Linked DNA regions of Homo sapiens: regions 1, 2, 3, 4, 5 and 7 are each linked to region 6. The links are contacts of gene promoters, found by promoter capture Hi-C in blood cells and fetal thymus (Javierre and others, 2016). All regions are on one chromosome and are shown on one strand. The core of a region is centred on a gene start or on the middle of the fragment in contact, and the rest is flanking DNA. Distances in the headings are between cores, read along the strand shown. Region 1 has its middle 94 kb from the start of LINC02144. Region 2 overlaps LINC02144 (long intergenic non-protein coding RNA 2144). Region 3 has its middle 37 kb from the start of LINC02144. Region 4 has its middle 58 kb from the start of LINC02144. Region 5 has its middle 110 kb from the start of LINC02144. Region 6 holds the start of MEF2C-AS2 (MEF2C antisense RNA 2). Region 7 has its middle 77 kb from the start of LINC02144.

Region 1 (2,995 bases), core at 294-2,793, 850 kb after region 6:
GGTTTATTTAGATTACATAAATCTATGTAAAGCTAATTTCAAGGTACCTGCCTTCTGTGTTAGATTGTTTTATTTTAGGGTAACAAGCCTAGTTTGAAAAAAAAAAGTTATGATAAAAATAGGCATTTTGTAATAAAGTAGATTTCTCAAGAAATAGGAGAAAATAGATTTAGTTAATTTATTCACCCATTCATTCATTTATTGAAACAACCATCTTGAATTGGTCCTGGTTTCTCAAACAAATCAGTCAAAAATTGTCAAGACTAATTTAGCTGAAATTGCCTCCTGAGCACAATATTAAAATGTACAGTTCTAGTCAGAGCATTGATATGTGTTTTGGCATTGTCAATTCTTTTTTCACTGTTTTGTTATGTCCTCACTGCATGGCAGCTCTGGAGAACATCAGGAAAGATATATGCTAACTTTGGGATGGCAGTGATGCTGGAATTTTGTGTGCGTGCGTGCGTGCGTGCGTATTTTGCGTGCCCTTTAGATGAGAAATACAATTACAAGAACTCTATGCTCAGTTGGAGTCTCATGACTCATCACTCCATATCTAAATCAGCCCCCAAAGACATAAATCAGCCCCCAAAGACAGGGCTCTTGCAAATCCTGGAAGTATCCTTCTAATACTTACCCCTGACCTCCTGTTTCGGTTCCTGTATGCAGCACTGCTCTGTTTCAGAAAAAGATCGTTTTCCATTGTAATTCAGAAATACTCAGGTCCCCAAATGAACCTGAGATTTCAGCTATTCAGCAAATTTTTTATTTGCAAAGCACATGCCTGCTAGCCTGTGAGACTGCAGTTGCTATTCATATGAATGTTGGCAACATTTCATTGTGGGGGTCAATTATGGTCATTTACCATGATGACATAATAACAACTGCAAAAATGTGAAAGCTAAAGTAGGGTTATTATTACTGTTTGTAAAGTCTGTGTCCCAGATGTTCCTGCCAGGAGAGAGGAAAGCTGGAGTGCAGAGATAGCTGACAACAGTGCTAACCATTCAAATCGCCACCAGATTGAACAATTTACAAGACAGGGATGTAACAAGAGGCTAAAGCTGGTACTCAGGTTGCCCTGCCTCCCTCACCTTGAACTGCAAGACTTTTCCTTCTTGGCATGTCATGTCATACAGAAACAACCCTGCACCCTAGCCCCAGGATGAAAGAAAAAGAAGAAATACAGGCAGTGAATTTGCCCAGAGAGATGGGCCAACAGCCAGTGTCATTCTCTGATATATAGCCGAGGAGGAATTTATTTCCAACTAGTAGAGGATTGGGGGGCTCATAAAACTGCATAGCTTCAACCCAATGAAATAAGGTTAGTAAAATACATAAACTCTGATAAGGCACCGTGAAGTATGCCTCTAGTCACCTGCAATTCACCAATGGCTTCATGATAGATATTCTCGCACCTGGCTTTCCTTGTCAGCTGTGACCAGTGTGTGCCTTTTAACAAAGTTCAGCCTCCTTCCCTCCCGGACTCTCTCTTTTTTTCTACCTTGGAAAGAGGTCTGGTGCTAGGCTAGTAGAGGGCTTGCTGATTGCAGAGATGCTTAGCAGATCCTACAGCAGATCTCTTGAGTGATAACACTCTGATAGCAAGCACCAGCATGAGACAAAAGCAGAGTACTTGTCAAATAAAAAAATACAGCAGTAGTTGAATAGACGAATAGGTAATAAAAAAAATCAAGCCCTAAAAAAATTCAGCTCTGATGATGCCTGTTTTTTTAAAAAATGGAGAAAAAAATCACAGTGGGCAGAAACTCCATTTTTTTACACTTCATACTTCTGTCAGTGTGATGTTGAACAAGTACCATTAATCAAGAGTGCTGTTATTCATTAGGCACAGTGATGAACTTGAATTGTTACTTTAGTATCATTGTTCAAAGCCTCTGGAACTGCCTTAAAGAAGATGGGAAAAATTTATAGCTATAGTTTACAGCCAAGACTGTAAAAGAACTTTCCTACTGTTAACCAAATGTTAAACATGGTAATAATAGTAGTAATACCTTGTATTTATACAGTGACTATCTGAGAAACTCAAAGTACTCAACAAACAGTACATAGTATATTCATTGTCAGCAACATCGTTTTGCATAAAGTTAGTGGGAGGTAGTATTACTTTCTTTGCTATCAGGCCAATAACATGTTCTTTGTGTTTATAGTTCTCTCTGATGTAGGGGAGGTGGCAGACAGGAAGGAGGATGGGGATATGGCGTGTGTGTGGTGGCAGTGAGTGGATTGAAGAGTTTTGTGTATCTTTTGAAGAACTAACCCAAAAGGAATCCTTTTGCTGTGTAATGGTTGTAAGAGATTTGGATAAACATGATGGTTAATCCAGTCTCTCCAGGCATCAGAAATTAATTATAGCATATTCTAATCAGAATGCACTCCTGAGGAAATTAACTTGATGTACTCTGCCTGCTGAGAGGAGGAAGAGCCCTTAGGCCCTTTGGCAGGTTTCCTGACATCCCAAAGCTGACATGCTCATGCTGCTTCTCTGAGTGACTGGTTCCTGGCCCTGCCTACCTACTCACAGCTGATTGAACCAGGGTGGGCCAATCAGATTCCTTCTCCTGGGCATTTAGAAATGGATTGTGGGAAATCCAATGAGTGGAACGAACTTCTGAACTGGAAGGTGACTTAAAGACAGGCCTGCAATGACTCTATTTGACCCATCTGAAAAACAAACAAAAGAGAGGAGGAGGGAGAGCTTTGGTTCCTGAAGAATGTTCTGTTTCTCTCCTAGTCAGAGCCATTTCAGGCTCTATAGCCCATCCCTGATTCTTTACAGTAAATATCCATTCAGCTTAAGTGTTTTTCCTTTATTCCTGAACAAATATATGGTCTCTAACTAAGATAGAAAATATCCCAAGATAATCACACTCACAAGACTTTGTAAGAGTAAAGGACAGACCACATGCACAGGAAAGACCCTTCAGTGTATTTTATTTGGAGGGTCCTTGGCCCCCACATATCGAAATACCTT
Region 2 (2,972 bases), core at 333-2,832, 950 kb after region 6:
GGTATAATATTTTTCCAATTCTGAGCCAGCTTTCTGTACATTCACATGCAAGCATGCACCGGTGTCCTTCTCTATGAACATCATTGCAAAGTGTCCAATCAATTTGCTTCTATTATGAATCATGCCCTATTCTTACTGGTTTTCTGCACATCAACATTCAATGAGTAGACTAAAAGCCCATGCTATGTATACTCATCTAAAATTCTTCCATATACAACCTTTGCAGAAATAACTGAGCCAGAACGCATATCAGTTATATTGCTTTCATGTTTGAGGCCCAACTGTTGCACCTTCTGGGTCGATGCCAAATAGAGATTTTTCTAGTAGGCAATATAAGTTTTCACTACTAATTGGATCTGGCATGTACTCTCACAAATAGTCACATTTGTTTTTTCTTGATTGATTTTTAAACTATTTGTCAATGCAAGGTCAACAGTGACCCTTCTCAGGTCTTTCAGCCATGGGGATTGGTCCTCAGCCTGCTGAAATGCCAAGCAATTTTAGTTTATTTCATTTGTCTACTTCATGTTTATAAAAGTGCATTGACATACACATCGACACACTGTTTTTTAATGAGTTGTAAGCGTTTGTTGTCATTAAAAAAATATATTTTAGAAAATTTGAAAGAGAAAAGAAAAATATCACAGTCACCACAGTAACACAATTATTATTTGTGTTTATTACCTAATTTTTTAGTAATAAATCCTTAAAAATTATTGTATATTTTAAAAATATGTGTCTTAGTCTTCTCCTTCCCTTTGGCCCTTAGGTATACATAATTACAGGAATTACAATCTTTGTTCATGACAAATGCTATGTAATGTTCATGCAAGGCCCTATTAATTTTTTACTCACTTATTTGTAACACTATAAGATCTCTCACAAATTCACCATCATCTCCTCATATATTAGGAGCTTCATATTAACCTACATCAAATGTTTTGTTCCTCATTCCTCACTCTGCCTTTCCCTACTAAAGGTAACAATCATTCAAAATTCTGTTCTTACCAATCTCTTATTTCATGTATTGCATTTAGATGCACTCCTTAAAAGCTTATTTTTTTTTAGATTGTTTAAAAGTTGAGCATACTGCATGTAATCTTTTGGAATTTATCTTTTCATTTAATAATCTTATTACTAAGATTTATTCCCAATGTTGTCTGTCACTCTATGTCATTCATTATGATTTCTGTACAATAAACCATTGTGAATATACCACATTTTTTTCTTCTATTTTCACTTGGATGGACACTTGGGTTGCCTTTATTATAGTCTTTAACTGTCAGTTTTAGTAGTTTTATGATATTCCATCAATTTTCCTAAACAGCTCTATATATTTTTTATTTTGTTGCATATAATACATTGCTCTATTGATCAAGGTTGGAGTGAGCACCTCTGTACTAATAGGTTTCCTGCAATATATATTATACCTTAGACAGAGACAGAATTATTAGGTCAAAAGATATAAGCATAATAGATATTTCCAATTTGCATTCCAAAGGATGACAATTCCATCAGCAATTGCACAATTATCACATCACCATAAGCACTGTCTAATTTATTTTTTGTTGTTAATTTAAAAGATAGTTATCTTTTGGCTGGGTGCAGTGGCTCATGCCTGTAATCCCAGCACTTTGGGAGGCCGAGGTGGGTGGATGACCCGAGGTCAGAAGTTCGAGACTAGCCCGACCAACATGGAGAAACCCCGTCTTTAATAAGAATAGAAAATTAGCCAGGCATGGTGGTGCATGCCTATAATCCCAGCTACTTGGGAGGCTGAGGCAGGAGAATCGCTTGAACCCTGGAGGCATAGGTTGCCGTGAGCTGAGATCATGCCATTGCCCTCCAGCCTGGGCAACAAGAGCAAAACTCCATCTCAAAAAAATAAATAAAATAAAATAAATATAGTTATGTTTTACTTTTAAGCCTCACTGATTTCAGTCAATAAATGAATATTGACATATTAGAGGTAAGGCATTAAGAGTGAAATAATGGCTCATAAACGAGCTCAAAAGTCTAGTTTGAAATTCTCAATGGGATATATTGTCAGTAAGCATTGTTTATTCTTACTAGAGTGATTTTCAACTTGCAAGTAAAAAAGCTGAAGCTTAAAGGAAATGAGTAATTTTTCTAAAATTATATAGTTAGTTTTCTATCACACTGTATTGCTTCCCAACTGACCAAATGTAAAATGGATCATCAAAATTTTTAACTTGTTTTCATTTTGAGTGATCTCTTTAAATTTCTGTAGGATTTATAATCTTGGCCCTACAACATAGTACTTGAACACGCATCTACTGTTATTTTAATTCCACCCCCCGCCCCACCCCAAGGAATGGCCTTCTTTTCCTGCTGTTGCTTCTCCCTTGAATTTATCCCTCACAATGTGTTGTAGTGTCAGGTCTAGAGCAATTTGTACAGACAGACAAGCTGAGCTGACCTGTCTGAAGTCACACTCTTTCTATGTTGGAGACACTTGTCTTACCATTCCTCTAAATCAAAATATTATTAATTATGTAGATTTGATATCTCATTTTCAACTCATTCTTCTTTCATATGCCATATGTTCAATAATATTAATTAACTAGTTTGCATCACAGCATGGCATAAAGTGCATTGCAGTGTTTGTATAATTTATATAAATGTTTGCCACAAGATTACTTGGCCAATGGAGACAGTAGTAGGGACTTTTTTTTTCAGTCTCACACAGAACAACATTTGCCAGGCACTCACAACACAGCCACTCTACTCAACTACCTCAACTAGAGACAATTTTTGTTCAGTCTGATTCATCCCTAACAAAGCAAACATATTTAATCCTTGGTCTTTATGACTAAAGTCAGCAGTTTTACCCATCAAAGCTGCAAGTTCCCACCCTTTTCCTGCATGCCTGCAATCTGCATCTGAATTGCCAGATGATTACTCTGCTGGGTTCCTTATGCCCACTCATAAACAGTTACCGGTCTTTGTGG
Region 3 (2,731 bases), core at 127-2,626, 910 kb after region 6:
GTGCTATCCCAATTATTGACTTTTTTTTCCCCTACAATGGTAATTTTTCTTTTTGATTTTCATTGATGGTCTCTGCCCTCACTTCCTCTGAATAAAGCCTTGGAACTTCTATTCATAATTGGATAAAATTAGAAAGAATCCCACATCAAGTAGCAAGATGCCTTAGCTATTATTACATTGTAAAATTCCAAAGAAAACCATTTAGGCATGTGGGCCCCATTTAGGGATTTCTGTTTTATAAGTCATGTTGGTGTAGAAGTGTGTGAGTGGAACTCCACAAATTATACTTAACATTTACTCCTAAGTAAGCTGGTAAATCTGCGTGAAAGGAAGCCCAAGTCTCCACTCTTGCTTCCAGTTCTCATGCTTATAAAGCGAACTGTCAGCCAATTCCAGCAAAGCCAAAGGGGGAAGATGTTTTTGTAAGCTTCCTTTAACTGGCAACATTTAGTGCACCACACTAATATCCCAACAACATCGCTATGGCAACCTCAGGCAAGCCCTGCGCATCCCTTAACTTCCAGGCCTCGGCAGAAAACTTGGCTTGCACCACCAGGAGGTGGGGAGGTGGGGAGCCGGGGAGCTGGGGAGTGGGGAGCTGCGAAGAAGGTTGGCTCCGGGCTCTACCCAGCATTAGAAACAAGGGCGGGAGGGCTGGCGGGTGAAGGGGGACGACACCACTTGATATCCTTTCTAAGTGATTCCTGTGTTACTCTGACTTTGTTTTAGTTATCACGTGAGCTAATTACAATGCTAATTAGCCCAGTTTACGGGGACTGCTGTGCATTTGTACACGAGGGTTCTTTGTTTGATCTGCTACATCATAAGCTTACCAGCACGGAGGGATAGCATGTATCGTTGAACGTGGAAGAACACACCTTCATTTGTGTTAATGAAGAAAACTACTGAAAACCAACAGACTAATTAAGGGTAACGATGAACAATTTTGATCAGCAATTATTTTTTAATATCGAAGTTCGCTCCTGGAAAGAGTAGAATGGGGAAGTTCATCTTCCAGCTTTCTACCCAGAAAAGTAGTGAGAGAGAGATCCTGCTTCATTTCCAATTCTTCTCCCACAAACTGTTTTAACATATAATTTAATCGATGCCTTTATTTCAAAAGAAAAAAATAATTATAGAGCTTGTTGGGATCATTTTCTGAAGAGAGGACATTATGCGTGCATGAATTCCATCGGTGATCTGAGGAGGAGCAGGCTGCTTGGACCATTACCCATCATTGTCGAACAGCAGAGTAATTAATTGGGCAAATACGTCTAGATCTGGTGAATTCACATGCACAGTAACTGGGCAGCAGCAACACACACTCTTTTACTGTGAATAAAATAGCAATAGTTTTATGTGCCTTTGTGCTATGTAAAATGTCTTTTTTTTTCCTCTTGGCTTTATCCATTCCAGATTATTTTGTCCATCTTTATGTACTCATTTGAAAAGAGGTTGCTTATTACAAAGGAAAAAGATATCTAGATGAGCAAGTTTGAATTCCATGTCTCTGTTTATTTTTAAAGGAATGAATTGGGTTCATTATTCTTTCACTAATTTTTAAAATAATTTAATATTTTCACTAAAATGAGTTAAATGAGCATGAGGAAATAGTATTTTTTAAACTAGTTCCAGGAATGGACAAGCTCCTAAAAAAATTATTAAGGCCTTCTAATTACCGTACAATATTAATTCAAAAATTTAATTTTTTATTTAAGTGTCATCTACAGAGGTAAAAAATAAGGCACAGCATTTGTCCTGGAGAAACTTCTTATAATAGTCCTCTGTAAAGTATAGATAATCAAACAATCTAACACTGTTTATTTGAACATCAAAAAGTGGACAAATATTTAGAGGAAATAATATAATTGTTTTAATGCAAATCATCTCTGATGGCTAAGTCCAAATGTAATAAGAAAGCTTAGGTTTTGATTTAAAAGGAAGTCAATTTTCCAGCATCTCCCCTTCTGAAGAGGTTAAATGATGATTCTTTTTTTTTTTTTTTCCGATCACATTTTAATCCAGATGACAGAGGACTTGCACTCCTAATTCAGACTTTCTGGTAAAGCTCAGCTTGTCACAATGTATAGCTTTCTTTTCTTTGATAAGGTCAGTTTGCCAAAAAGAACAAAGTGCATATGAGTAATACATTACTCAACCACTTGTATACATACATCTATTTTTCTTACCAGGTCTCACTATTCAGAAAGGTACAGACATGGCACCATGATAAAAAGGGTCATTTAAAAGACTTCGCAGAGGCTCTGTACTGTGAAGGATTGAATTTTCACTTGAATGCCTACATTTTCACATCTTTTTCTTTGCAGAAATATTCCTTTTGAATGGCAGACTGCAATTGGGTAGGTTTTTTTTTTTTTAAGTCACTGACCAGGAATATATAAAATATTAGAAGGCATTTGTCCCAGTGGAAGAACACAGTTCACTACCAGGTACCAGGTGGTTATTAAGAAAGTTATACAACTTTATCTCTTCAGATTGAAGAGCTCCTTCAGATAAAAGCCTTAAGTTCAGTCAAGGTGGAAGGAACACTAAGGTCTGTCACTTCTAAATGACAGACAATTTAAATAACTTGTGAAATCATTAGCCTCAAAGCCATCTACCTAGTAATTTTTCATAATCACATCCAATGTGTATTCTTAGGAACACACAAGCAGACTCCAGTTTATCTTTCTATCTACTTCAATATTTGATCACAACATTTTGAGAAATA
Region 4 (2,890 bases), core at 102-2,601, 890 kb after region 6:
AGTCTGCTGAACATAGATATTTCTGCTCTGGATTTAAAAATGAAACATATAAAATAAGAATATTTTTCTAGCAGCTAATAAACGCCCTTTGAAGGCTATTCCAAAAGAAGAATTTGACAGATGTTTTAAGCATTGGAGAGGGAGGAGTCCAGTGGCTTCAATGAAACACGTGTATAGGCTTTCAGGATAGCTGCTGCAAAAAACATCATTTAACATGTCACATTGCTTCGTGGTCAGTTACTTTGTAAGGAGAAACAGAGAAAGAATGTTGCTAACTGGCTTTCCAATGAAATCTCCAATCGGAGCTAGGACTTTAACATATAGATTGAATGTAAGGTGATTTGACTTTACTTTTAAAATATTCCAAGAAGTAGTTTGGCATCTCAGAATATTCTCAACAGATGTTTACAATTTCTCTCTGCTGAATGAGGAAACTAATGCATGTACTTTGTGAATATGGGCTGAGATTGAACTGGAAGGCCTTATCAGGTCAAAAGAAAGCCTTCAGCTTCTGTACACAACCTTGGATATTCTGATGAAACTGTAAAGAGTCCTACTAATAGCTTATTTTCTCCCCAATGAATCTTTGAATCTTAGGGAAACTATAGCTGAGTACATCCAAATATTTTCACATGAAAGCTCCAGGGACAAAGTCAGGCAATCTCAAAATTTTACAAAGTACCAAGAGAGAAATATTGTAAAATCTCCCATCCTGGGAAATTAAATTTTCTTAAATGTTTCAAAAATAGAATTCAAGGAAAGTAACATTCTGAAAGCAGAGAACCCTAAGTAGAAAGCACTATATTGGATACTTAACCAACTTCAGGCATGACAAATGAAACATTCTGTCAAGATGTGGTCCACTGAATCTACCACAAATAAATGTTATCATTATGAATTAGACGTGTATGAAAAGAGATGATTAAAATTTTACTACAAATTCAATTTCAAAAATCCAATATCTATTTCATTGAACTAAAATTTATCTTACTAACAATGTTACTTCAACTTAAATGAGAAATAGCTTTTCCTCCCTACCCCCACCCACCACCAAAATAACATGAATATAACATATATCACTAGGGGAAAAATCATATTTAATCTAACTGAAACTATTTTGTGGACTAGATGCTAATAACATTTAGACTATTTTTGGCATGGTTATTCAATTTAAAACAAACATTCAATTTTTATTTTGATGTCATATGCATGAGACTGAGGTAATGTTTTCTTCAGGTAGAAGGAAATAACACTTTGTATATACATCACTATAATTTTGCAAGTTGGTCTTTCGAGAGGCTTTGGAAGATATAAAAGAAAAATCTCTATTTTTCTTTAACACTTTGATAAATGAGTAATTTCAGAAGAAAATGTGATTATGCATAGAGAATAAAATTCTATAAAATAGTCTGCTTTCTGTATTATCAACAGTTTGAAATAATTGGGTAAAATATGTGGCACTTTTCATTTTTACTCTATTTCTAATACAAATTGATTCAAATAATGTTATAGTATTGTTAAAAGTGCTAAATAAGTACCAATTTGGGTACAGTGCATTGTTGTTTTATGAATATCTAAACATACGAAATTCTAGTCAGAGATCATGGAAATTACTCAGAGATTATATGTAATTTGATCACAAAAGGCTACATAATAAAATAACAAAACAGAATTACATTTCAATTTTAAGGAAAGTGATAGGGATTAGAATTATTATTATATTTTAGTGTTAAAGCTAAAACAATTTCTAATTTGTTTGCAATTCTTAAATGTGATACAAGAGAAAGTACTCAGGAAAGACACCTCCAACTACATAACAGTGTGAAGATTTGGCCTACCTTAAGTATTATTAGTTCAGTGAGGGTACTGAACAAAATTTTGATATTTTTGTTACTACTATGCTTTATTATTTCTGGGCAATCTAAAGAAGAATTAACATTACAGCACTTTTTTAAAATGGAAAACAGAAAATGTACTTTATAGACACTAAAAAATTCTATTATTGCAACTTAGTTATTTTACATTCTAGTTACTTGCCTAAGATACAAGGCAGTCTAAAATTGCCAACTGATGACTGAATTAAAAATTTTTCATACAGTAAATGACTAACTCTCAGGTTTCTTTTAAGAGACACAAATCAGTAAAGGAACTGAACTAATCAGTACAAAATTAACAGGTGATACCCACTTGAAAAAATCAAATCTAATGAAAATAAAATTAGCAACAGATTCTGTTGTTTAATTATCTGTATCAGCTAGCATATACAAATGTTAAAACTTTTCAACTGAATTGCTGCATTTATAAAAATGTATGCACAACATCATATTTTAAAAGGAAACTATCATCCAACACATAACTTGGCAATTTTTTGTTAGTTAACTGTTCTACTCAAATTCGATATATTGATTTAAATATTTAAATACTTTATTTAAATCTGCATTCAAAGTATGACATTAGGAAGGTGTTGAAATAAAAATACAAAACAAAATTTATAAATTATAATATTTAATGCCATATGTTTAAAAATGTTGAAAGAATGTAATGTCTAAATTTAAAGTCTAAGCTAACAAATCTAGGAGACCCTACAAATGGGAAATATTGATTAACAATTAGGTAACATTTTGAGTACTTAAAAAAATAATTTAATAATAAAATCTAATTTATAAACGCAATTTAAATCTTTGAAAATTAAGTAAAAAAGTTATACAATATGAAGAGATGAAATTTTGCCTAAAACATAAAATAATTTAGTATTGTTTTTATTTTCTGTTTATTATATTCAACTTAAAAATTGTATTTCTTGTGTATATTTTGGAGAATCATTATTCAAGGTGGATTTTAACAAGAAAATAAAAACTTTTGCATTCATTCTTATGTTTTATATTTTTAG
Region 5 (2,806 bases), core at 89-2,588, 830 kb after region 6:
GAACCTAAACCTGTGAGGAGTCTGCTTGTTGGGCAATCCAGCACTGGTTATGCAGCAGAAGCTTCTATTGCATTTTCCTTTGATCTTCTAAATCCCAAACCCATTTAACAAAAATAATCAGAGCTCGTGTATGCTTTACAAAAACTTGTTTGTCTTCGCTTTACTACTCAGTTGAGTTTCTAAAGCAAATATATTTCTCAACTGCATTTTAATTTTTCTGATCATTTCTGTTTTTATTGGCTAATGCACAAATTCATGTTTACTAAAAATCACTGCATTCCCAATGCTATTGAGTAAAGAGGATTTCATAACATCTCTGATTTTACATGGATCAAACAACAAATTTGAGATTCATCACTGTCTAAAAATCTTTATCACTTAGACTCCCCTTACTCTAACATCATTCTTTCTGTCATACTATCAAATATTTCACCATTTCCTCTTTGCTCCAAAGGCACTAGGTGGAGCTAAACCTGTCCTCTACTGTCTTACTTTAGTTATTTGCCGTGATTTTACTGTGTTAATTCTCACTGCATGTTGAACATGCTCACTCTTCAGAATGGTCTGAGATATCAAGAATTTGCTCTCAACAACATCTGCAGTTATTTTGATTTACTTAGGACATTAATCCTCATGTTTTCTTCAATACCAAGTATGTAGAATTTTTTAGTTGGAGTTTTTTCAAGCCACATAATTGTTTGAACTTTTTGCTTTTTTGCCCTGCTCATATCTTTTAAGAGATGTCAAAGTAGAGAGAATTGTAGATACAACCAGTCCTCACCAAAGACAAGAAAGTCTGATGCCAATTCACAGTACAGAGTTCTAAAGCTGATGGAGGTCCTGAAGAATGGGTGTACCTTAATAACAAAAAGCCCCTAGGAATGAGTCTGGTGAGTGATATAAGAGGAAAACAAGGAAATTCACTGAAGTCAAAATCCCAAATTTGAGAATCTTGAAACTAAGAAAAGTTGTAGGAACTTTTTCAAGTCCCATGAGACTCATGTTTTCAAAAACAAAAGAGACTTCCAAGAATGTTTCATAGAATTTCTGACTTTTGAAAATGAGAATATAATTAATTTTAGACCAATTATATTTCAAAGATTCTTTTGAAGAGGCTTGAGAGATTCAGATTGGAAATTAATTTATAAACTCCACTCCCAAATGGTACCACCATCACTGTTCCCTCCCTGGTGTTCTGGATTATGGGACACATGAAAATCAAGGGCTGACAGCCACGGTGTTGCCAGGGACACAAGGACTGATATACAGAAAATACATGCAGGAAGAACTGGTGGTTTCAGTGCCTGCCACCACTAGAGATTTATTTCTCTGAGACATGAAGGCTTTTCTTTAAATCGTAGAATCTTAGGAGTGAAGGGAACCACAGAAGTGAGCCCAATACCACCATTTTATATATTAACAAATGAGGTATAACCAGTTAATTTGTTCAAAGTCACAGTTAGTGTGCTATTTCACTTGGACTGGAAATGAAGTCTCTTATAACCCGCTACTATTAGTTATGACTGAAATCTAACAAAAAGGAAATTTTTTGAAAGAATGCTGGGTGTCTTAGCCAGAGTTTCCTCGAAAGTAGAGGCTGACATGAAGGATTCTTTATAGGGTATCTGAGACTGTGATGCCAGGGAACAGTAGTACAGGACAGGGGGAATAAAACAAGGAAGGAGAAAAAGCCAATCAAGGGAGATTTATAAAGTTGGCCATCCTAACTTGCACCAGAGAATTGGATGACTGCTGTTCGATCTCTCTGAGACCTCTGGAAACACTTATAAAATACATCTTGAGGTCAAAAGGAGAAAGTCTTTATCCAGCAGCTCCCATGGTTCAGCAGTGGCTCAATTAGCATTAAATCCCTTATACTTCCATAATCTACATACAAAACTGTGGAACAGATTCCCACACTGTAACATCTGAGACACTTCCAGGTGGTAAGCAGTAAGTACAGAGCTTGGGCCTTTGGTGAGATACCATATAAATGTACCCTAAATAAGTTGATGCATGCTTGCACAAAATTAATGGCCACAGCATGGCTGGTTGAGGAAGTTGGGTCAGGAGGATTCTGCAGGACAGAACATAAAAGATGTTTTCTGGACTCCAAAGAGAGCTAACAGCAGTAGGAAGGGCAGGAAAACTGCTTGGCCCCTTTCTCCACTCCTTTCCCCGCAATAAGTCATGTGGAATCAGTATCTCTAATGTTTCTCAAACTCTTTCTGTCCTTAATCTCTATATATTCTTCTTTCTCCTGGAAAGCTAGATTTTTCCATATGATGTAAACATAGTCACCTATGCTTATTAAGTTTATGTTATACAGCTTTATTCCAGAAGAGAAATTTCCCTGCATCTCTCTGTCTCAACTTAAAAATTCTCAAGAATGGGTATTGGCCTAGCCAAGGACAAGTGGTGTTGCCTGGATCAAAAGTCAAGATTATATAGGGCGTAGGAAGTGTAGGTAGAGTAGAGGGGAAGGCAGTTGTCAAAAAAGAAATGTAGTACATAGTAAGTGGACAAAATAGTATGTCCATACTACACTAGAAATGATATTATATTTGGAAGGAATAATACAAAATTAACATCTTGGTGGGAATTCTCCAAGCTTAGATGGCCTCTAAAACAGGGATTGTCTTCTAACACAGAATAGTCTCCCAGGGAAAGGGAAATCATACTATGATGGGAGATAAGACCATTTTTTCCTATTTTACAATTAACCTTAGGTTTATCTCTTAAATCAATCTTCCTAAAAACTGAATATGCAGGCAATAAGATGCAATATTAAGTACAAAAAATTTTT
Region 6 (3,165 bases), core at 602-3,101:
TGTCCTGATCCTACATAAAGGTAGGCAGGTATGTGGGAGAGTCCAGGCAGGAACAAACAGCCACGCGCAATTTAACTGCAGCCAAACTCAAAGAGACCTTGAGCCTGCCGAATTGTTTCACTCAGCCAGGTGCCCCCCAGAAACCGGCTATTCTGCAATCAGTTGTGGAATCCTGCAATTATTCATAAAATGTGCTGAAAATGTATTTTAGGAAACGTAATCTTGCTATATATGGCAAGGTAAAGGCGAACCTGAAGGATGAATGTGTTTCTGCTTTTTAATGTCATACGTGTAGCCATCTGACCACTTTTTATTGGGTGACATATCATATGAGCACTTTGGTGTAGGCTTGGAAAAACTACAGCCAGAGGTAAGGCTGGAAATTCCATAAGAGTTAAGGGTGCTGAAAATGGATGCTGGATAGTCCAGCATGAAAGATGGCATACCGCTTTAGGTTTGAAATAGGGGGAAATACATGTGAATATTTATACATGAAGGCCATTGGGGAGGGCTGAGTCTTGGCCTGAGTATCTGTGCAGGTAAGTCATTCATAAGAAAACTAATTACCTGTGCATGTACTTGGACTTGTTTAATTGAATAAGCTGCATGTGTGCATACTTGCTGTTCTTTCAGGGTTTGCAATTATAGATTGAGTCTTTTTTAAATGATAGCTTGGGGGAATTAAAAGGTGGAAAAAAGCCATCGTGCTGCATAGCTATATTGCCAAGAAAGAGAATCCGATCCTATAAACAAGATTACCATTGCTTGAAATCTAACTCAAGGCCTGTATATTTTAAGCCACATCAACTGGTTTAATATAGCCAATTGTTTTATTTGTGTATTTGCTTTCATTTCAAAGTCAGGAATCAAGGATGCTTTTCAGTCAAGATAATGTGCCTTGTTTCCAGCCATATTAAGATAAAAATGAAACTCAGTAAATTTTGAATGCAGCCAATAAGGTACAACATACAACATGGTTGAAAATGTCTTCCTTGCAGAAGGCTGTCCATTGCTGTGTCTACCCATTTTAAAATATATATATTTTTTTCAATAAGAAATGCTAGAAAGCAATAGGGCGGGGAATGCCGCACCTCTCAGGCAATCAGCACAAAAATTATTTAGAAATCTTTGGAATCACTTCACTTATACATACATTATCTCGAAAGCACTGGCCCCGAACTGTGTTTCTGCTAATATGAAGTTAATTAGACAATCAAACTTTGAGCCTTGAGCGATGGGCACTACAGCCCATCAAGGTATGTCAAGAAAGAAAAAAAAATGTGTATTTTCCTTTATGACCAAACCAGGAGGTTATACAGCTGGCATTGCATACATGACAGATGTGCATATTTGTAACCTTAAATAAACAGAAGCAGGGAGGTAACTGTGTATATTATCTAGCAAGAGACAGCAGCAGACACTCGCCAAAAAAGACAGAAAGGGACAAGAGAGACACATAGACATAATAAAATAACAACAATAAAAATCCTCCAAAAAAAAAAAGAGGGAAAGGGAACCAATAAAATGACAAAATCTGAAATTCTCGCAAATTAAAAAATGCAAATATACCTTTACATATGCATCAGTATTAAAAATAATACACGCTGGAACCAACAGGAGCGAGAGCAAGAAGAGGAGGAGGAGGTGGAGGAGAAGGAGGAGGAGGAGGAGAGGTGGAAGAGGAGGAGGAGGAGGAGGAGGAGGAGGAGGAGGAGGAGGAGGAGGAGGAGGAGGAGGAGGAGGAGGAAAGAATGGAGGCGCCGCGGAGCCCTGATTATGCATGGGCTGGAGCTGCCTCCTCTAACCTGTTCTTCTCCGAGCCGGGCAGCCGGCGGTCCTCAGCCGCCCACAGAACAGGAGCCGAAACAACCGTTCTCGAAGGCTACAGCGTTTATTTTTCTCTTTTGGGGGGTTTTGGCGGTTGTTTCAGGGGCTCGCCAACTGGCCCCTTTAATTAAAAGCTTCAATAAAAGGCGATCGCGCCAGGAATGCACCCGCTCCTCTTCGCGCAGGATTTGCATATTTTTTTAATGCCCTAATTTCCTTGATGTATGTAAATGTAGCCGGACGTAGAGGGAGACAGGGAGCTGACGTCAATGGACGTGACCTCGCAGCTAAACCTTGAACGTGAAGCCGGGATGGGGGAAAACACGGAGCGGCAGCCGGCGGAGCCCGAGAGCGCGGGCGGCGGCGGCAGTAGCCGAGCCCAGGCCGGGGTGCCAAGGGACCAGTGCCGGCCCCGGGGGAGGACAAGCCGCCGCCTTCTTTCTGCACCGCGCGGCTCTCAGACTCGCCAGCCTTCCGGCCGCACACGCAGACTCTTGCCCTGAGCTTCCAGCCCCACCACACACACGTTCTTTTGCTTCCCTCAGAAAAGCAACACTCCCCAAAACAACAAACCAAAATCAACAGATAAAACAGATGTTTTAGACCAATGCTCGGGTAGCTTATCAGAAAGAAGACTCTGACCACGGAACATATATATTTTTTGGCTTCTCTCCACAAGAAGAGGAGCGAGAGACCACAGACAACAGCAAATCACTCCTAAAACACGATAACTACAAGTGCTCCCTGTAGGGAGAGGTAAATCGCCCAGCCGACTGGTGAAGTCTTCTGGTTTCGGTACCTATTTACCTGTGCACTCATTATGCGCCTCGGCTTCATTAACGGCAGGATCATGAGCGCGCGTTTTAATGTGATGGGAGTGCTGTGTTGTGTGTGTGTGTGTATGTATGTATGTGTGTTGGGAGGTGCTTGCGCTAGTGAGCACCGAGGCAGGCGCTCTGAGCAGAGAGAGATCAGTCTTTCCATGGCCACGTCTGGGACTCATCTGCGGAGCCATCTAGGCCAGGGCTCCTAGATTGGGGTTCGACTTCACCCCATGTAAAAAGAGAGGCCAGCAAAGGCTTCCCCTGAACAGCCAGGTCCTTCCCATCGGATTGTTTGAGGAAGGAGGCTTGAAGTGTGAGCCATTCTGTAGCCGCCGCCTTGCCGGATTTGGCCTGGTGTTTTGCACTTGAAACTCAGCGGCCTCAGCGCGGAGGTAGTGCCTCTCCGAGACGCGGCCGAGGCCTTGTCATTCCCCTCCTTCCGCCCGCGGCAGCCCTGCGCGCCGGCGTGTGCGTGCCCGCGCACCGGACCGCTGGCACCTCCCTGTGCACATCC
Region 7 (2,879 bases), core at 358-2,857, 870 kb after region 6:
TTTCTGTGCAAAGATATTTGGAAAATTGATTTTTCAATAAAATTGAATGTGGCTATCATGGAGTTCTTTCTCCGGGATCCAACTCTCAAATAAGTCCTGAAGAAGAAACTGGGATGTAGACAAGATATTGGCAAAATCAATAAGAACATTTCACCTTTTGATGTTGTAGGCCAGGTTTTTTCCAAACTCCTGGCCTCAAGTGATTCACTTGCCTCAGGCTCTCAAAGTGATGGGATTACAGGTGTGAGCCACTGAGCCTGGCCTGCGAGGTGTTTTTCTACCCCTTGGGATATACCACCTATCGAGGTATGTTCCCTTCTCTGTCATTGCATGTGCCAGTTTTTTCCAATGGTCTAAAGCAACAGGTTGTAGACATACCATTATTTTCTAGAGCAATGGTAATATAAATCTGCTACAATGAGCCAGCATTCCTGTTGCAAATAAGCTACTGTAGAGGATACCTAGTCCATAGGCCAATGTATGGGCTTATTCACATGATCCTTATTCTGAAAGAATGATAAATGCGGTCTAAAGGTATTTCTGTTTGTTTCTCTGTTAGACATTGAATTAAGGTGAGCTGTGCTTTATTTCAGACCAGTCCTATTGGTGTACATTAACTTGCACTTGACTTTTTGAAACCTGTCTATGTAAGAGACTGATCCTACAAGGGAAAATATATTAGAAGGGGATTGGAACTCAGGAGAGGTATGGTGTGAAGGTGTAATGGAAAAAGAGGGTAGGATGTGAGATGTGACTACACTCATGCAATTCATGGGTTTCCTACAGAACCCCTTCTTGGATGTTTCAAGCTACACTCTCCCCTGCCCTTCATAGCAACTGTGCAGAGTGCTGAGGTACCACTTTACCACCTGTTACTGAGATTGTCTATGGAGTCCATTTATCACATTTAGTTGTGAGCAGTTGGAGCCCAGGAATTTTTCTTTCTGTTTTTTTTTTTTTTCTTTTTTAAAACAAGAGACATAATGGACATACATTAATGGCATATATTTTAATTGTAGAATTTGACAAGTTTTGATATATATGTATACCCATTAAGTCACCCCAACAAGGTAATGAACATATCTAGTACCTCCAAGTTTCCTGAAGCCTCTTTGTTATGCACCCTTCCACCCCTGCCAACCTCTCCCAAAGCCCATCCCCAGTCAAGCACCATTCTAATTTCTGTCACTATAGATCACTTTGCATTTTAAAAATTTTTATATAGGAGAAATCATTCAATGTATGCTTTTGAGGAGGTCTGTCCCCTTTCACTCAGCCTAATTATTTTGAGATTCTTCCATGTTTTCATATTTAACAATAGTTCATTCTTTTGTTATTTCTGAGTAATAACATTATTTGGATATGTTCATTCACCTGTTGATAGACATTTAGGTTGTTTCCAGTTTTTGCCTATTATAAAATTTGCTTTTATGTTAAGTGAAATAAGCCAAACACAGAAAGACAAATATTGCCTGGTCTCACTCATATGAGGGAGCTAAAAAAAAAAGTGGATCTCATGAAGGTAAAGAGTAGATTGGTGGTTACCAGAGGCTGGGAAGGGGAGAAGGAAAATGGCAGAAAGAGAAGTTGGTTAATGGATACAAATATATGGTTAGATAAAAGAAATAAGACCTAATGTCAGATAGATAAGTATGGTGTCTATAGTTTACAATAATCTATTACACATTTCAAAATAGTGAGATAATAATTCAAATGTTTCTAGCATAAAGAAAAGACAAATATTTAAAATGATGGATATCCCAATTATACTGATTTGATCTTTACAAATTATATGAATGTGTTAAATTATCACACGTACTAAAAAACTATGTGTATCTATTATGCATCAATGAAAAAATTATTTAAATAAAAGACTATAAATTGTGTGCAGTGTATACTGCTCAGGTGATGGGTTTACCAAAATCTCACAAATCACCACTAAAGAACTTACTCCTGCAATCAAGCACCACCTGTTCCCCAGTAATCTATGGAAATGAAAAAATAAAAAAATATTTCCAATAATAAAATTAAATCACGTATCAAATCAAAGGAAAATTATAAATAAATAATAAATAAAGCTACTATGAGCATTCATGAAAAAGTCTTTATAAGTCTTTATATAGAATAAATGTATGCATTTATTTCTTTTGGGTAAAGACCTAGGAGTGAAACAGCGGCTTCCTATCGTAGGTGTAATTTAACTTTTCAAAAACTGCCGAACTATTTTCAAAAGCGGTTGTACTACTTAACATTCCCACAAGCAATATATGAGAGTTCCAGTTCTTTCACATGCTAGCCAACACTTATTATGGTCAACCTTAATTTTAGCTATTATAATAAGTGTGTAGTGGTGTCTCATTATGATTTTAATTTGCATTTCCTTAATGAGTATTTTAATAATGTTGTGCTTTTCTTCATATACTTAATTTTGACATTTACAAATATTACTTGGTTTTGCCCATTGAAAAAAATTGTTTGTTTTCTTATTATAGACTTTCGAGAGTTCTTTATACATTCTGGACACAAGTCTTTTAGCAGATAATCGGCTTGCAAATATTTTCTCCCAGGTTATGGCTTATCTTTTAAGTGTCTTTTAAATAGCAGAAGTATACATTTAAATGAAGTCCAATTTATCCATTTATTTTGTTCTCAGTTATGTTTTTATTGTCATACCTAAGAAATCTTCCACCCTTATTCTTCTGAAAGTTTCATTAAGTTTCACATTTAGGTCTGTGATTCATTTTGAATTATTTTGTAATGATGTGAGAAATAAAAATTATTTTTTTCTCTTCTGTTTTTGGCATATAGATATTTAATTACTTCAGCATCATTTTTTGAAGAGACAATCCTTTTAAAAATTTAACTATCTTTGCATATTT

What was found. Contacts are between HindIII fragments. The CHiCAGO score rates a contact against its expected background, and 5 or more counts as called.
Region 1: a fragment that was not itself captured here is called in contact with the fragment with the promoter of MEF2C-AS2 in region 6 in 6 of 17 cell types (activated CD4 T cells, non-activated CD4 T cells, naive CD8 T cells and 3 more); the score reaches 6.8 in activated CD4 T cells.
Region 2: a fragment that was not itself captured here is called in contact with the fragment with the promoter of MEF2C-AS2 in region 6 in 1 of 17 cell types (non-activated CD4 T cells); the score reaches 6.2 in non-activated CD4 T cells.
Region 3: a contact is called between a fragment that was not itself captured here and the fragment with the promoter of MEF2C-AS2 in region 6, in 16 of 17 cell types (total CD4 T cells, naive CD8 T cells, non-activated CD4 T cells and 13 more). The highest score is 56.0, in total CD4 T cells.
Region 4: a contact is called between a fragment that was not itself captured here and the fragment with the promoter of MEF2C-AS2 in region 6, in 16 of 17 cell types (naive CD8 T cells, total CD8 T cells, naive CD4 T cells and 13 more). The highest score is 26.9, in naive CD8 T cells.
Region 5: a contact is called between a fragment that was not itself captured here and the fragment with the promoter of MEF2C-AS2 in region 6, in 1 of 17 cell types (naive CD4 T cells). The highest score is 5.9, in naive CD4 T cells.
Region 7: a contact is called between a fragment that was not itself captured here and the fragment with the promoter of MEF2C-AS2 in region 6, in 6 of 17 cell types (total CD4 T cells, activated CD4 T cells, non-activated CD4 T cells and 3 more). The highest score is 8.8, in total CD4 T cells.

What each region holds. Positions count from the first base shown.
Region 1 is chr5:87,825,276-87,828,270 of GRCh38, reverse strand. No RefSeq gene overlaps it. Among named protein-coding and RNA genes, the nearest start is that of LINC02144, 94 kb to the right of the region's middle. The HindIII fragment of the contact is 3,297 bases long and covers 1-2,995 here.
Region 2 is chr5:87,722,386-87,725,357 of GRCh38, reverse strand. All of the region lies in intron 1 of LINC02144 (long intergenic non-protein coding RNA 2144), which reads left to right. Among named protein-coding and RNA genes, the nearest start is that of LINC02144, 9.2 kb to the left of the region's middle. RefSeq lists enhancers at 2,412-2,912, 2,913-2,972. The HindIII fragment of the contact is 1,054 bases long and covers 1,056-2,109 here.
Region 3 is chr5:87,768,748-87,771,478 of GRCh38, reverse strand. No RefSeq gene overlaps it. Among named protein-coding and RNA genes, the nearest start is that of LINC02144, 37 kb to the right of the region's middle. The HindIII fragment of the contact is 1,092 bases long and covers 831-1,922 here.
Region 4 is chr5:87,789,447-87,792,336 of GRCh38, reverse strand. No RefSeq gene overlaps it. Among named protein-coding and RNA genes, the nearest start is that of LINC02144, 58 kb to the right of the region's middle. The HindIII fragment of the contact is 5,719 bases long and covers 1-2,890 here.
Region 5 is chr5:87,842,298-87,845,103 of GRCh38, reverse strand. No RefSeq gene overlaps it. Among named protein-coding and RNA genes, the nearest start is that of LINC02144, 110 kb to the right of the region's middle. The HindIII fragment of the contact is 2,550 bases long and covers 64-2,613 here.
Region 6 is chr5:88,674,904-88,678,068 of GRCh38, reverse strand. MEF2C-AS2 (MEF2C antisense RNA 2) reads right to left here and starts at 1,851. Exons shown (of 4, transcript NR_146284.1): 1 at 1,806-1,851. The region is part of intron 1 of MIR9-2HG (MIR9-2 host gene); the gene reads left to right. RefSeq lists enhancers at 1,777-2,342, 2,780-2,879. The HindIII fragment of the contact is 5,913 bases long and covers 1-1,963 here.
Region 7 is chr5:87,808,614-87,811,492 of GRCh38, reverse strand. No RefSeq gene overlaps it. Among named protein-coding and RNA genes, the nearest start is that of LINC02144, 77 kb to the right of the region's middle. The HindIII fragment of the contact is 4,366 bases long and covers 1-2,879 here.